Linked DNA regions of Homo sapiens: regions 1, 2, 4 and 5 are each linked to region 3. The links are contacts of gene promoters, found by promoter capture Hi-C in blood cells and fetal thymus (Javierre and others, 2016). All regions are on one chromosome and are shown on one strand. Each heading gives the region's core, a stretch centred on a gene start or on the middle of the fragment in contact. The rest is flanking DNA. Distances are from core to core; before and after follow the strand shown.

What was found. Contacts are between HindIII fragments. The CHiCAGO score rates a contact against its expected background, and 5 or more counts as called.
Region 1: a contact is called between a fragment that was not itself captured here and the fragment with the promoter of CKS2 in region 3, in 4 of 17 cell types (total B cells, naive B cells, megakaryocytes and 1 more). The highest score is 10.8, in total B cells.
Region 2: a fragment that was not itself captured here is called in contact with the fragment with the promoter of CKS2 in region 3 in 1 of 17 cell types (monocytes); the score reaches 8.4 in monocytes.
Region 4: a contact is called between a fragment that was not itself captured here and the fragment with the promoter of CKS2 in region 3, in 2 of 17 cell types (neutrophils and total B cells). The highest score is 6.1, in neutrophils.
Region 5: a contact is called between a fragment that was not itself captured here and the fragment with the promoter of CKS2 in region 3, in 1 of 17 cell types (naive CD8 T cells). The highest score is 8.2, in naive CD8 T cells.

Annotation. Positions count from the first base shown.
Region 1 is chr9:90,824,243-90,827,253 of GRCh38, reverse strand. The region is part of intron 1 of SYK (spleen associated tyrosine kinase); the gene reads right to left. Among named protein-coding and RNA genes, the nearest start is that of SYK, 24 kb to the right of the region's middle. The HindIII fragment of the contact is 826 bases long and covers 1,131-1,956 here.
Region 2 is chr9:87,977,732-87,980,820 of GRCh38, reverse strand. The region is part of intron 1 of LOC105376131 (a long non-coding RNA gene); the gene reads right to left. Among named protein-coding and RNA genes, the nearest start is that of CDK20, 4.7 kb to the right of the region's middle. The HindIII fragment of the contact is 662 bases long and covers 1,021-1,682 here.
Region 3 is chr9:89,309,726-89,313,233 of GRCh38, reverse strand. It overlaps CKS2 (CDC28 protein kinase regulatory subunit 2), which reads right to left and starts at 2,039. Exons shown (of 3, transcript NM_001827.3): 1 at 1,883-2,039. The coding sequence starts at 1,941. MIR3153 (microRNA 3153) reads right to left here and starts at 1,009; the gene lies at 928-1,009. LOC105376136 (a long non-coding RNA gene) reads left to right here and starts at 2,432. Exons shown (of 3, transcript XR_930101.4): 1 at 2,432-3,508. RefSeq lists enhancers at 1,484-1,533, 2,204-2,493 and a silencer at 2,504-2,733. The HindIII fragment of the contact is 1,703 bases long and covers 1,287-2,989 here.
Region 4 is chr9:90,781,515-90,784,919 of GRCh38, reverse strand. No RefSeq gene overlaps it. Among named protein-coding and RNA genes, the nearest start is that of SYK, 19 kb to the left of the region's middle. The HindIII fragment of the contact is 5,045 bases long and covers 1-3,405 here.
Region 5 is chr9:91,149,281-91,152,305 of GRCh38, reverse strand. All of the region lies in intron 1 of LINC02937 (long intergenic non-protein coding RNA 2937), which reads left to right. All of the region lies in intron 2 of LINC00484 (long intergenic non-protein coding RNA 484), which reads right to left. Among named protein-coding and RNA genes, the nearest start is that of LINC02937, 12 kb to the left of the region's middle. The HindIII fragment of the contact is 1,058 bases long and covers 742-1,799 here.

The sequences.
Region 1 (3,011 bases), core at 294-2,793, 1.5 Mb before region 3:
ACACACACCAGTTGAGGAGGGAGTCAGTGGACAGGGCTGTGCCATTTAGTGCTTAGCCAGCCTGGAAATGCCCTTTCCCAAGTGTTTTTACCAAAAATGAACTTGGTCTTGAATTGCTGGAATGGGTATAGCGAGGTTTTCCTGATTGTTTTATGTTTTTTTAAAAAGTCCTACATCATAACATGTATCAAATTCAACCAGAAGATTGAACCAAATAGGAAGAGCATCCTTGAAAAGATCTTAATGGAGACCTCAAGATGCTAATTGCCAGCCAGGAGACTGAAAAAGTCAAGCAGAGATGGTCTTAATGGCGGAAAGGCCAATGTGTAGGGCAGAGGAAAGAAGGGTGCCAGCTCTCTCTGTCCCTGTTCCCAGGCCTCCTGGTCAGACAGCTGCTCATGGTGCTAGCAACAGATGCAACTTTACAGAGCACCTCTGACCAGCTCCCTCAGGGTACTTTTCAAGCATCTACTAACATTCCCTTACTCTGTGAAGCAAGCAGCTTTTTAATTTCCCACTGCAGTCTGTGACATCCTCCACACTCAAGAAGGGCCAGAAGCTCAGCCAGGGCCCACTCCACAAAAGGCCGTGAAACATCCCTGGAAACGCAAGATAAAAAGGAACCCTCTCCAGAGCTGTAGAAGCTGGAAGGAGTCATGTTGATGAGTTTACTGGGGTGGGGTTAGGAGCCTCGCGAGGGAAGTGTTCAGAAACACAACAGTAGGCAATCTGCACCTGCACCCCAAACTTGTGAAAATGACAGCTTCATGAAAAACAAGTTCTCATTTTATAGAAGATAAACTTCAGCCACAGAAGAGGTTGGCTGTACATCTTTAGTGCTGGCCAGAATGGCCATGATGATGAAGGTGATGAGGATAATGCAAAACAGCTATTCCATGAGTACTTGACTCAAAGGTTATCAACTGATGTGCACAACATCCCTAATGGTAGATACTATTGTTATCCTCAATTCACAGACCTGGTCATCGAGCCTCAGGAGGGTCAACTGGCTTGCTGAAGAACACACAGTATGTGGTGGAGCCAATATTTGAAGCCTGCCTCTTCTCTTAGCTACCATCTTCAGGTGGCAGTGCAAAGGCCCTCATAGTCAACCCATCCAAATGTAAGCTTGGGGCTTTCCTGCCTAACTTGGAGCTCCTTCTTGTTCCCTGGAGCTGGGTTCTCAATGTGCGTCTCTGGACCAGCAATGTCAGCATCACCAGGAAACATGGAGGATATGAAAATTCTTAGGGTTCCACCCTGACCTGCCAAATCAGAAACTCTGGGGTGAAGCTCTAGGTTTTGTATTTTAAAGGCTCAAGTTTGAGAACCTTGGCCCAAGAGCTCCATCCATTTATGAAGATGAAAATCCAAGCTCTCTTAGATCATTCCCTTCTCTACACTGCTGAAAGTCAACCCCTTGCCAATCCCTCCCATCTCACGTCTCAGCCTCCCACACATGCCTACTTGTCTCCAAAACCACATAACATCCTTTTCCTCCACATCTCTTTTGAGTAGCTCTGGCTGTCAGTGCCCCCACCTTGCTCCCTTCCTACATGTTCTAAGCTGTGGCCCTTTTCTCTGCTAAAAATCCTCCACTGTCCAGGCTACCCTTTGAGCTCAGGATAAACATGTCCCTGTCCCCACAGTCAAAACTAACATGCTTTCCTTTTGTACCACTGACCACTGTTTTGACTTAATTTACCTTTACTTTCTAGCATGTGAATTTTTGATGAATGTCTGTTTGTCCCATAAGGGCAGAAATTGTATCTGTTTCTAGTAAGACTTGAAATTGAGTAGTGTGAGTCCTCCAACTTTGTCCTTTTTAGTGGGTATTGTGTTGGGTATTCTAGATCTTTTACCTTCCCAAGTAAAGTTCAGAATCATTTCATCATTAGCTACAAAACAGCTTGCTGGGATTTTGATTGGGATTGGGTTGAATCTACAGATCAAGCTTGGCAGAATGAACATTTTAACAACATTGAGTCTTCCAATGTACGAACATGGACTACTTTTCCATTTACTTACATCTTCTTTGATTCTTCCATCATTATTTTGTAGTTTTCTGCATACAGATCCTGTACATATTTTGTTAGATTTATACCTAAGTATTTTCTTGTGTTTTTTTTTTTTTGTCTTTTTGGTGCTATTATACATGGTAATTATTCTTATTTCAAATTTCAATAGTTAACTACTGGTATATAGGAAAGCAACCGACTTTTGTATATTGATCTAGCATCCTGTAGACTCACTTATTGGTTATTAGAGTTGTTTTATGGATTCTTTGAAGTTCTCCATATGGACATGCATATTATCTGTGAAAAAAGATGTCTTATTTCTTCTTTTCTGATCTGTATAAGTTTTGTTTTGTTTTCTTGCACTAGCTAGGGCTCCCAGTAGGATGTTGAACAGAGTGGTAAGAGAGGACAGTCTTACCTTGTTTTCAGTATCAGAGGGACAGTGTTCAGTCTCTCACCATTAAGTATGATGTTACCTGTAGGTTTTTTTTTTTAATGCTCTTTATCAAGTTACAAAAGTTTTCCTCTATTCCTAGTTTAAGATTTTTTTTTTGACATGAAAGAGTGTTTTGAGTTTGTCAAATGCCCTTTCTGCCTCCATTAACATGGTCATATGATTTTTCTTCTCTAGCCCATTGATGTGATGTATCACATTAATTTATTTTCAAATGTTGAACCTGTTTTGCATACCTGGAATAAATTCCACTTGGCTGTGGTACATAGCTCTTTTCATACGTTGTTGGGTTTGATTTTCTAACATTTTGTTGAGGGTTTTTGTATATATAAGTAATATTGCTTTGTTTTCTTGTAATGCCTTAACTGGTTTTGGTATTACGTGAAATCTGAACTCATAAAATGAATTAGAAACTGTTTCCTCCATTTCTATTTTCTGGAAGAGATTATGGAAAACTGGTATTCTTTCTTTCTTAAGTGTTTGACAGAATTCACTAGTGGACCCATCTGGGCCTGATGATTTCTGTTTTAAAGGTTATA
Region 2 (3,089 bases), core at 102-2,601, 1.3 Mb after region 3:
CAACCTCTGCCTCCCTGGTTCAAGCTATTCTCCTGCCTCAGCCTCCCGAGTAGCTGGGATTAGAGCTGCCTGCCACCGTGCCCGGCTATTTTCTGTATTTTTAGTAGAGACAGGGTTTCGCATGTTGGCCAGGCTGGTCTCAAACTCCTGACCTCAGATGATCCACCTGCTTCGGCCTCCCAAAGTGCTGGGATTACAGGTGTGAGCCACCATGCCCGGCACAGTATGGTCATTTTAACAATATTAATTCTTGTACTCCATGAGCATGGGATGTCTTTCCATTTATTTGTATACTCTTCCATTTCTTTTATCACTGTTTTTTAGTTTCCTTGTGGAGGTCTTTCACCTCCCTGGTTGGATTTATACCTAGGTATTTTATTATTTTTTATTTTTTGTAGCTATTGTAAATGTGATTGCCTTTCTTTTTCAGCTAGTTTATTGTTCAAATATAGGAACACTACTGATACTTATATGTTGATTTTGTATCCTAAAACTTAACTAAATGTATCAGTTCTAAGAGTTTTTTGGTAGAACCTTTAGGTTTTTCCATATATAAGATCATGCCATCTGCAAATAGGGACAATTTGACTTTCTGCTTTCCAATTTTGATACCCTTTCTTTCTCTTGCCTAATTACCCTGGCTATTATTACATTTGTTGCCTATGTTTTTAGTGTTACATGAAGAAGTCACTGTCAGGCCAGGTGCGGTGGCTCATGCCTGTAATCCCAGCACGTTGGGAGGCCGAGGCAGGCAAATCATGAGGTCAAGAGATCGAGACCATCCTGGCCAACATGGTGAAACCCTGTCTCTACTAAAAATACAAAAATTAGTTGGGCGTGGTGGCATGCGCCTGTAGTCCCAGGTACTTGGGAGGCTGATACAGGAGAATTGCTTGAATCTGGGAGGCAGAGGTTGCAGTGAGCCGAGATCATGCCATTGTACTCCAGCCTGGCAACAGAGTGAGACTGTGTCTTAAAAAAAAAAAAAGAAGTCACTGTCAAACCCAATATTATGAAGCTTTTCCCTTATGTCCTTATGTTCTCCTCTAAGAGTTTTATAGTTTTAGCTCTTTCATTTAGGTTTTCTTTTTTTTTTTTTTTTTTGAAACAGAGCCTCCCTCTGTTGCCCACGCTGGAGTTCAGTGGCGTGACCTCAGCTCACTGCAACCTCCACCTCCTGGTTTCAAGTGATTCTCCTGCCTCAGCCTCCTGAGTAGCTGGGATTACAGGCATATGCCCCAATGCCCAGCTCATTTTTTTGTATTTTCAGTAGAGACAGGGTTTCACCATGTTGGCCAGGCTGGTCTCGAACTCCTGACCTCAAGTGATCCGCGGGCCTTGGCCTCAAGTGATCCTGCCTCAGCCTCCCAAAGTGCTGAGATTACAGGTGTAAGCCAGTGCACCTGGTGTAAATTTGGGTCTTTAATCCATTTTGAGTTAGTTTTTCCATATGATATAAGGGGTCAATTTTTTCATTTTCTTGCATGTAGAGCTCTAGCTTTCTCACCATCATTAGTTAAAGAGACTGTCCTTTCCCCATTGAATGGTCTTCATAATTTTTTTAAAAATCATTTGATCAGGTATGTGAAGATTTACTTCTAGGCTCTCCATTCTATTCCATTGGGCTGTCTGCCTTTATGTCAGTACCACACTTTTTTGATTACTATAGCTTGTGGTAAGCTTTAAAATCTGGACGAGTAAGACCTCCTCCTTTTTTAAGATTGGTTTTGGCTATTTAGGGCCTCTTGAGAATCCACATTGGTTTCTGAATAATTTTTTTTTCTAATTCTGCAAAAAAGAAATCCCATGGAGATTCCATTAAACCTTTAAATTGTTTTCAGTAGTATTGACATATTCAAAATATTAAGTCCTTCAGTCCATGAACACAAGATGTCTATTTATTTGTGTCTTTCTTTCAGCAACATTTTTTAGTTTTCAACCTATGAGTCTTTTGCTTCCTTATTTACTCCTAAGTATTTTATTCTTTTTGATATTATTGTAAATGGAATTATTTTCTTAATTTCTGTTTCAGAGTGCTCATTGTTAGTATATAGAAACTATTGATTTTTGCATATTGATTTTGAATCTTGCTACTCTGTTTATCTTGTTTATTAGTTTTAACAGTTTTTTGTGGCATATTTAGGATTTTCTACATATATTATCATGTTGTCTCTAGACAGAGATAGTTTTTTCTTTCCAATTTGGATGCTATTTATTTATTTACCTACATTCATTTATTTATTTATTAGACGGAGTCTCACTCTGTCACCCAGGCTGGAGTGCAGTGGTGCGATCTCGGCTCACTGCAACCTCCGCCTCCCGGGTTCAAGCGATTCTCTTGCCTCAGCCTCCCAAGTAGCTGGGACTACAGGTGCGTGCCACCATGCCCGGCTAATTTTTGTATTTTCAGTAGAAATGGGGTTTCGCCATGTTGGCCAGGCTGGTCTTGAACTCCTGACCTCAGGTAATCCACCTGCCTCAGCCTCCCAAAGTGCTGGGATTACAGGCATGAGCCGCTGTGCCCGGCCTATTTATGTATTTATTTATTTATTTTTCTAATTGCTTTGGCTAGGACTTCCAGTATTATATAAAATAAAAGCGGCAAAAGTGAGGATCCTTGACTTGTTCTTGATCTTAGAGGGAAAGCTTTCAATCTTTCACCATTGAATGTAATGTTAACTGTGGGCTTTTCCTGCATGGCCTGTATTATGTTGAGGTGGTTTTCTTGTATTTATAGTTTGTTGAGTGCTTTCTTCATTAAAGAGTGTTGAATTTTGTCAAATGCTTTTTCTGCATCAATTGAGATTATCGTCTCCTTTTACCATTTCTTGAAGAGAATAGTGAAATAACTCCCATTACCATAATCATACTAGTCTTTGTGCTGTGATGTTATGCACAAAATGGTGCTTCATAAAGCATTTGATAATTGTACGACAGTCTTATGTGTGGGAAGATAAGTAAAATTTAGTCATGTAAAAGTCATTATGCAGTTATTGATTTGGCAAAAAAAAAAAAAAAAAGAAAAAAAAGAAAAAAGTCACTAGTCCAATAAAAAGGCATTTGCTTTGAAACTTTTCTTGAACCTCAAA
Region 3 (3,508 bases), core at 790-3,289:
GCCTTTGAAATTTACATTGCATGCTGCACCATTACATATTAATACAAACCACCCTAGACTCATGCCTTAGTGCTATATTATTACTAGTTTCCCCTTTAAAATTATGTGTGGAAATTACTATCCTGTTTCATAAAGGTTACTGGCTTGGCCAATTAATACCAGCTCTAATTTTTATTGGATTAAAATACATCACTTCAGATATGTAAACTTTCTTCTATACATTACCACACACAAATCATTTGAGTATATTAAAACTAAAAAATCGACCTACTGCCATCAGAAAGAAGTCTGAGAAATAGCTTCATTTATTTTCAATATTATACCCTAAAAGAAACTTGTACCGACCCTTAAATCCTTATCCTAAACACTTGGCACCAGATGTGTTTCAGAATAATTTTCTAGGTTTTAGTAAGATTATTACGGTTTACATTGTGTTCATTATTGGATATCCTCAATAGGGCTCTTGATTAACATCGCATAATTGAACACTGCCAGCATATTACACGAGTATAGTTTATTATTACTATAAGGTTAACACAATCTACTTGAAATTTACCTACAGCCAGAAAAACATGCTATTTTTCTAGCTAGGAATACAAAAGGGTGCAATTACTACTACCCATAGAAATATTCAGTAGTCCTCATGTGAAAACAGACTTCCATGCTACTAGGGAGGGGGAGAAAAAGAGAAACCACCCACTGTTTTGTTCTTTCTTCCTTAAATAGCATTCGGAGAAATCTAACCTACAAAGGCAGCAGACAGAAAACAAGGTCACAATTTGGCCAACGATGGCATGGGCTTTATCTCCCCTAAATCTTGGTAGTATCCCAGAACGCAGCGTTCTAGTCGCTACCTAGTTAAGAAAAAGGGGTTGACTGTTTTCTGAAGCCACGCCCTAAATGAAGTGTCCCGCATACAGTAAGGACAACAAATTTTAAATGTCCCTACTCGCTTTCCCCCAATCTACTTTAATTGGGGGGAAGGGGACAGGGACATTTAAAATTTGTCTAATTTTACTGATCGATTACAGCCACCATGTTCTAGTACGGTGCTTCAGGACTCAAACGCAAAAGTTTCTCAAAGCCCAAAATTTGGCCAGTGTATACTAGCAGAAAATGATGCCCAAAGTCCACTCAAGTTCTTAATCGGCCTTAAAATGAAACTCCTTTAATAATACCCTCAATTGTATGACTGCGGCTAACCTATAATGGCCCAAATCACCATACCCAGTAAACATTTTCGAATCCCCATCAAGCTCATTTTTCGGGGGGTCGCCTCCAAAGCTTATTCTTATACCACTCACTTCAAAAACAAGAAAAAGAAAAGTGTTCCTCTGTGTTAACAGATGAAAATGACCATTTGACCATTCTAAACCACAAACTAGTAAAAGCTGCATCACCCCGTCAGCGACAGGGAAAGTGTGTCACGGTTGCTAAAGGAAAAAGGACGGCACCAGGTGGGTTTTCCTGGACTGGTTCAAAGAACTGGAACTGAGACCAGCTACTGAACGGCCTAATTACTTCGGCCACGGCCGAGAAAAAAGTGACGGGATGGTCACTCCGCGTCGCCGAGGACCCCATGACCCCCAAGTTGCGCCGGTTCCTACCCAGGTACTAAATGCGGCCCGGTGGGCACTCTTCCCTCACCCTCCGCGCACACCGAACAAAGGCCCAACCGGCCCGGCGCGGCCAGGCACCCAACCATGTCCGACTGCGCGGGGCGCCAGGTGGCCGCGACCCCAAACCCCGGCCCTCGCCCTCCGGCCCCGGGCTCCGCCCCCCAGGCCCCGGCCCCCACCCCCGACCCTACTATGCCTGGGTCGCCCCGCCCGCGGGGGCCCCGGCTGAGGGAGCCGGCTCGGGGTCTAAGAAAGGCGCCCACCGGTACTCGTAGTGTTCGTCGAAGTACTTGTCCGAGTAGTAGATCTGCTTGTGGGCCATCCTGCTGGCGCGCTGCAGAAAATGAAACGAGAGCGCGAAGAGCGGGCGCAGCAGACAAAACCACGTCCAGCCCAGGCAACAACTCGCCGGAGACTAACGACCGCAGTCCCAACGATCCGGATTTGAATCCGACAGCCCGCCGCCGATTGGACAGCAGCGCCGACCAATCACCTTCTGCGGAAGTCGGCCGGCTGCCAGCCTATCGTCGCCGCCGCCTCGCAAAGTCCGCTTCCTGGGTCAGCCAATCAGAGATCTGTTGCGAGGTTGCCCGAGGGAAGATAGGTACGTCACGGGGGTGGCAGGGCCCTTAACGGGCAGGGGCGTGGCCAGAGGAGGGCGAAGTCGGGACGTTAAGGGCCGCAGAGCGCGTGCGCAGGAACGTGGAAAGTTCCAGGACACGGAACCGTTGGGACGGAGGACCTGAAGGTGGAGTGAGGTATCACGGGGTTTGGTGATGACGTAGTCGGTCGAGGCCGGAAGCGTGGGCCACAGGGCTTTGAGCGGAAGCTGTCGACCTTGCACGGTGATGGCGCTCCTCGTGATCCCTTGTATCCCCTCAGGCTCGAGCCAGGAGCCTAGGTCCACTTTGAAAAGTAGTAAAAGGCAGAAAGGTTCTGCGGTGTGAGGGGGAGGGCGGCTTCGTGGTCGGCTGGGTCGGGGGAGCGCCGGGCGGCCGCGGCGTGGCTGTGTCCGGGGCTGCCCTGCGCAGCCGGCCGTTTCGCCGCCTGGTGCACTTGCTGAGCTTCCGGCCTGGCCCGTCGCGGGGCTCCTGGCGCCCCCCTAGACGACTGTGTGGAGAATGGAGCCTGCGGAGCCACGCGTAGAGAGAGGCCCGGAGCCGGCGCGGTGGCGGCGGGCGCCAGTGGTCCCAGCCACTCGGGAGGCCGAGGTGGAGTGTCGCTTGAGCCCAGGAGTTCCAGACAGGCCTGAGCAACAGAGCCAGACCCCGTCTCCACAAAGAAAGAAACAAATGGGCCAGAGACCCAGAATGCTTTCTGTAGCCTAACCTAATGTTCAAAACCAGGGCAGACCCAAGCCATGGAAAGCTTGAGGGAATAAAATAATATTCTGCTGCGGCCAAGAATAACAATGCTAATTCCTGGATAAGGGGATTTAAAATGATGTTTAACAACTTCTGGTCTTTTAATATTGACCCAAGTTTAAAAACATGTTCATATAAAAAAGTTACTGGAAGAAATTTATAAATGTAACTGGTGGTTATTTTTAGATGACAGAATTAAAAGTGATCTTTTTGGTATTTTTTCCACAACGAGCACGTGTCATTTTTATGTTAATTTCATTTTATGCGAAATGCTCCAGCGCAGTACAGGCTAGTGGGTTCAGGGTGGCTGTGACTAAGTAATGTAGATGGGGTACCTTAGACAAAGTTTCCAGACTAGAGGCTGGAAGTAAGAGGTCCGGGTGCCCTTTTCCACACTGCAGACCACGGACTTTTCCGGTTTCTGAACAAGTGAGACAGGCCGGCTAAGGACATTTATAATCTCCATGGGTGAGGGCCCCACCCTCATGACCATCTAATCTTGATTACCTCCCGAAGGCCCCACCT
Region 4 (3,405 bases), core at 118-2,617, 1.5 Mb before region 3:
GCAAAATAAAATGGCCATTAAAGGTATTAAAATATAAAACCTTTTTTCTCTTCTGTTGTCTCTTTCAAGATGTCAGTGTTTTTTTAAATTTGCTATTGAATGTCATTCTAACTAAATAAAAATAGAAATTATAAATTATTAATACGGACTTTACCATTTATCTTTACATAGAATTTGTTATGCCAGTTTTAAATGTAAACATAAAAACATTGGACTCGTATGCGGAATCACCAAAATTACACAATTTGCACTTTGTAGTTCTTATGTGCTTATATAGTTCATTCTTTACGAGAACAGTGGTGATGCTGCACAAAACAAACTCAGTCATTTCTATTTCACTTCTTGCTATGTGCACAAGCACCAGCACCCTCTCAGCACCAGCAGTCTGCAGGCAGAGTCTGCCATTAAAGGGGTCGTGACTACCTTGGGAAATACACTGTGGTCCATTAAAGGGGTCGTGACTACCTTGGGAAATACACTGTGGTCCAGAGCACACCAGGCACCAGGAATCGTGACCTTTTATCTGGATGCAGGAAAGAGAAATGATCTTTGAGGTCCAGGGTGCATATTGGAGTGGCGTAATAGGAGCTAGGGGGAGAGAAGTTATCATCCTTCTTGTGGGTGTTAAAGAAACATCCAAATTAGGATGGCAGTCACGTGTATATTTCACATTCCGCGGCTATTTTCATGGCCTTACTGGGAAATGTGCCTGGGAATTAGATTTTCTTATACACGTGTCAAGCCCTGGGAGTGTTATTTGAAAGCGTGCTATTTCTTTATGAAATTTAATACTTTTGTCCTTGGAAAATGTCTGAGATATTGCTGACCAAGGATGTTTTTAGTATACAGCTGATAACACTGTTATTGTTGTACTCTGATACATCTCGATAGCAAGCCAAATTAACATGACATTCTGCACCTTTACGATCTACCATCTAACTTTCCTAGATAAATTCTGAGAAATAAAAATAAAATTCTAAGTCCCCTAACTAACTGAATGGACTCCCTCTTTGTCCAAGGAGCCTCAGAGAAGCCTTAAAAACTGAGTTGCCAGCCATGCCAGGCACACAGGAGGTGGGACACGCCTTGTTATGCCACCTCCCTTACTGCCATCAATCTTCCTTCTCTAACAGACAGAAACCAGCTCTTTTGAAAGACTCGCTTCACCTCTGATTTACACAACAACTGACTGGCATTCCTTCCTGATAAAAGACCACTGGCCGTAGACTGGCTCTGGCAGGTATTCACAGGCTGCAGACAACATGCCCCTGTGTCCTTGCTTTCACTTTGTGACATACAGAGTGAAATTATAATGCAATTAAATGTAAGTCTTCACCCCAAATGAATATGAGATGAATGTAACATGGATGTTTGCTTGCTATGAATGTGTGCACCCCCTTCATAATTATTCTCAGCCCTTCCTATAACTATTGAATATGTATACTTAGCTAGCCCATTCAGCCCAAATTTCTGTCTCACCTTTCCCTCTTTCAAAGTGCCTGCTTTTGGTTTCTACCAGAAGCTATGCTTCCCAGCCTGCACAGTGGGCAGCCTGCTGGATGCAAGCCTTTATAAGAAATAACACTCTCCTCTCCAAATTTATGAATCTCATGATTCTTTAGTTAACAATTACCCAAGCCAGATACTTCTTACTTGATGAATATTTCTTAGGTGAAGAGCAGCTGAACTTTAATACAAAATTCACATATTTATTTGTCTTTAAAACACTGTGTAATTGGCTGGGTGCAGTGGCTCACACCTGTAATCTCAGCACTTTGGGAGGCTGAGGTGGGCAGATCACCTGAGGTCAAGAGTTTGAGACCAGCCTGACCAACATAGAGAAATCTCGTCTCTACTAAAAATACAAAATTAGCCGGGTGTGGTGGTACATATCTGTAATCCCAGCTACTCGGGAGGCTGAGGCAGGAGAATCGCTTGAACCCAGGAGGTGGAGGTTGTGGTGAGTGGAGACTGTGCCATTGCACGCTAGCCTGGGCAACAAGAGCGAAACTCCATCTCAAAACAAACAAACAAACAAACAAAAAAACATGGTCTAATCCATTCTACAGCACATTTCTACAATCATCAAAAGTGGAAGCTCAATATGGAGAAACAGAGACATACCTGCAAAAATTTTTGTATACAGTTTTTTCAAGATCTCAGCTTTCCAATATAAAACATACATACTTTATGTTGACAAAACAATGAGAAATTGTCCTTACATCTCTCTGCCAACTGCATCTTCTTCCAACATCTATTATATATGCAATGTCTACTGAGCATTATGCAGGCCTAAGCTCTGGGGGTGCAGGACAGGCAAGGTCTCTATTTTGCAGAAGCAAACAGTTTAGCAGGCAGATAGGCAATCAACAGTAAACTGATAAATATGTGATATGTAAAGGCATGTTTAATAAGAGCCCTTTCTTTTGAAACAGGACACAATTGCAGGTGCTGGTTATTATACCAAGGCTTTGACTAGAATAACATTATTAGGTGAAGCTCCAGCAAAGTCAACTTGAAAAGAGTCTCTATGGCCAACTGTAAAAAGTAAAGTAGAGGTTCCTCTTCAAAGACTTTCCTCCCCGTCTAATTAGGAATAAATAGTAACTTCTCTTAGAAGCAAAATTTATTCAAAGACCTGTGCTAACATTCTTAAATATCTGCTAGCCATAATAAAAAAATCAATATACAATTTATGTTCCTAGCTCCCACAATTTAGCCTAAATATTTGCCCTGGCATGCTTATACTGGTCCAAGCAAGCATTAGGTCATAGCCTGTTCCTCTTCCTTATTTAAAAGTGTTTTTACCTTTCTCAGCCTTCCACTAGTTACTTCCTCCTTCCTTTGTTCCCCTCTACCTTTGCCTCTTTTAAAAAGTTCTAAGTTGCTAGCCAATCAGGACAAATACAGAATGCGAGCTCTTGTTCCAGCCAATGGAAACTGGACACAACAGTAGGGTGGACACGTCAGGTTATAAATGACCCTGTCTCCTTTGTTCAGTGTACTCTCATGGCAAAACTGCTGGCGAGTGTACCCTTTCTGCAGGAAGTAAAAGTGGCCTTACTAAATAAATTAAATTTATGTTCAAGTGCTATTTCTTTATGGCACCAAAGAACAAGCATTTCAAACCAAGTAATTCCTGCTGCGCTTTATGTGAATAATCAAGCCAAGTGTAATAAGCCAAAAACTTATTCTGCACACAAATTGGTCTTACTATAATTTCTCTTTAGTAGAAAAGGAGGGCTAGAGAATCAGAGAAAAATTGTTTCAAGGGAAAACTGTAACACCCGTTACTGAATTCCAGCCCCGACTTGTTTTAGAGTGCAGATCGAATTACATCTCTTCCTACAATAATCCTCTAAAAAGTACCAGCTTATAATTTTCTTCATGTTTTTAGTTGTTGCC
Region 5 (3,025 bases), core at 21-2,520, 1.8 Mb before region 3:
ACTGTGTGAGCCAATTCCTCAGATAAATTTCTTCCTGTGTACATACCCTGTTGGCTCTGTCTCTGGAGAAGCCTGTCTAATTCACATGTGGTGGGCAGGGATGGTTAGCTGGCTGAGCTCCTCCCTTTCCTCACTCCATGTTGTCCTGTGCTCTCCCTGGGCCATTGGGGTGACAGAGGGGAGGAAGGGAGGGAGGAGACGCAGTGGAGAGGATGGAGGAGGTTTGCTGGGGAGTGCAAGGGGCAGTAAAGGGCAGCAAAGGGCAGCAAAAGGCAGCTGAGCTGTGTGGGAGGCAGGGAGTGGGAAAGCAAGATGGCGGCGGGAGGTTGAGGGATGTGGTGGGAGCTCAGTCCCCTTGTGTGGTTGGAGACTTGCAGAGCTGGCTTGATTATCCTCAAGTCCCCTTTGGTCCCTGGGCAGCAACACCCACGAAAAAGTGCTGATTTCCCCAGACCATGGTGCAGCTACCACCCACTGAACCAGGGTTGAAGCTTTTATACTCAAGGGAGAGTGGAAACTTCTAGAATAGGGAACAGCTTGGTGAGCAGGTAAATATGGGCAGGCAACATTTCCGAGAGTGGGTGTGCAGATGGTGGGCAGTGGGGGGGAGGCACACTATTTTTTTTTCCCCAAAAGAACTAACTCATTCCTTAACTCATTCCTTAGAGAAAACTTCATGAAAACAGAAACAACGATGCTCCCAGAATCACAATCATATGTTGGATTTACTCACTTGAAGCTTCTCTCCAGATGTGGTTAAGGAAATATGACAAATAGACCTTGTTCTGATTTTTACTTTCTCTAAAGAACTAATATAGCTGATGGATTTATGATGAGAAAGCCATTAACACCATGAGCTGGATTCATAGTGCTCCTTGTCTCTCAAAAAATTGAGATACTTTGAAATAATAGGTATGTTTCTTTAAGAACACATTCTAGAAATTCAGGGCAAGAAGACCCTGCATCTGAAAGAACACACAAGTGGACATTCTGTGTTCAGAGAGACGAGAAGTTCCTGCCCTGGGGGACTATTTGGGTACTCAGTGTTCATAATGATAAGATTCATTTAAAAGGCAAAAACCCACAAACTAAAATGCGGTCAAACTGTTGCAGAGAGTAGGGGTGACGTACAAGGTGAAGGAAACAGAAGTTTTGTGGTTTAATAGCTGGTTTCATGATGAGTTATGGTATTTCTTCAGAAAAACTCTGCAAGCAGTTACGTGGTGCTATTAGACAGCTTTGGGAACTAATTCAGTCATGGTTTTGTAACTCATCTTCAATGGTGCTTGTTTTTTTGTTTGTTTGTTTTTGGTTCGTCTTCACAGTCACAGCCCAATATTTTTGTTTGGAGGTGGGGAGGGAGTGGGTTCCAATTATCTGCTGCTGTGTAATAAACCATCCAAAATGCAGCAGCATAGAGCTACCATTTTATTATTCCAGTTCTTCAGATTGCCTGGGGTCAGCAGGATGGTTCTTCTGCTGACCTCCTTTGGGGTCTCTCCTATTGGCAATGACTGGTAATAGGGCTGAATCACCTGGCCCTGGGACTAGGAAATGGAACATGGACAGCTGAGCCTCTCTCTTTCTCCTTGTGGCCTCAGGACTTCTCCATGTAGTCTCTCCAGCAGGTCGATGGTCTTTTAAAATCAGGGGTCAGCAAACTTTTCAGTACAAGACCAAATATTTTAGACTCTTTGACCATATAGTCTATGTCACAAGTACTCAACTCTACCATTGTAATGCAAAGGTAGCCATAAATGCCCATAAACAGATGGACATTGCTCTGCTGCAATAAAGCTTTATTTACAAAAATAGACAGTGGGCTGGATTTGGCCCATGGGCCATAGTTTGCCAACCCCTGTCTTACATGGTGGTTCAGGACTCCCAAGAGCACAAGAACAAACATTGCCAAGCTCTACAAGTTAGGCCCAGAACAGGCACAGAGTCACCTGATACACTGTTGACTAAAGTGGGTCTCAGGCTTAGTCCAGACACAATGTTGGAAAGCAGGGAAGAAAGAATGTTTCTTCCGCCCTTTTAGGTTTAGTGACTGTGGCCTGCAAATTAAACTAACAAAGGACAGATTAACAGGAGAAAAAGTATACAAATTGTATTTGATGTTAATATCTTAATTTTTGGGCTGGGCATGGTGGCTCATGCCTGTAATCCCAGCACTTTGGGAGACTGAGGCAGGCAGATCACTTGAGGCCAGTAGTTTGAGATCAACCTGGCCAACATGGCGAAACCCCGTCTCTACTAAAAATACAAAATTAGCTGGGCATGGTGGTGCACACCTGTAATCCTAGCTACTCAGCAGGCTGAGGCAGGAGAATCGCTTGAAGCCCTGAGGTAGGAGAATCGCTTGAAGCCAGGAGGCGAAGGTTGCAGTGAGCTGAGATCGCACCCACTGCACTCCAAGCCTGGGCAAAAGAGCGAGAGTCAGCCAGGCATGGTGGCTCATGCCTGTAATCCCAGCAGTTTGGGAGGCCAAGGTGGGCAGATGACCTGAGGTCAGGAGTTCGAGACTAGCCTGACCAACATGGAGAAACCTCGTCTGTACTTAAAAAAATAATAATAATAATACAAAATTAGCCAGGCGTGGTGGCACATGCCTGTAATCCCAACTCCTTGGGAGGCTGAGGCAGGTGAATCGCTTGAACCCAGGAGGCGGAGGTTGCACTGAGCCAAGATTGCACCACTGCACTCCAGCCTGGGCAATAGAGGGAGATTCCATCTCAAAGAGTGAGAGTCTGTCTCAAAAACATTTTTTAAAAAATTTTTACATGTAAACAAGTATCTTACAGAAAGTGAAAACCCAAAGAAAGAGTTATGACTGAGAACTCATATACCATTTTAACAAAGACTGTAAACTTGTGGCAAAATGACAAGGCAAAGACAAAGGATTTGAAATTCTAGTGGTGATAAACCGTGGAATGTCAAATATGTGGGGGAAAACTAATGGAAGATAAGGTTTATTTAGTAAGTTTGTTTATGCAGATTGAAGCCAGTATCATGTCAAGGGATA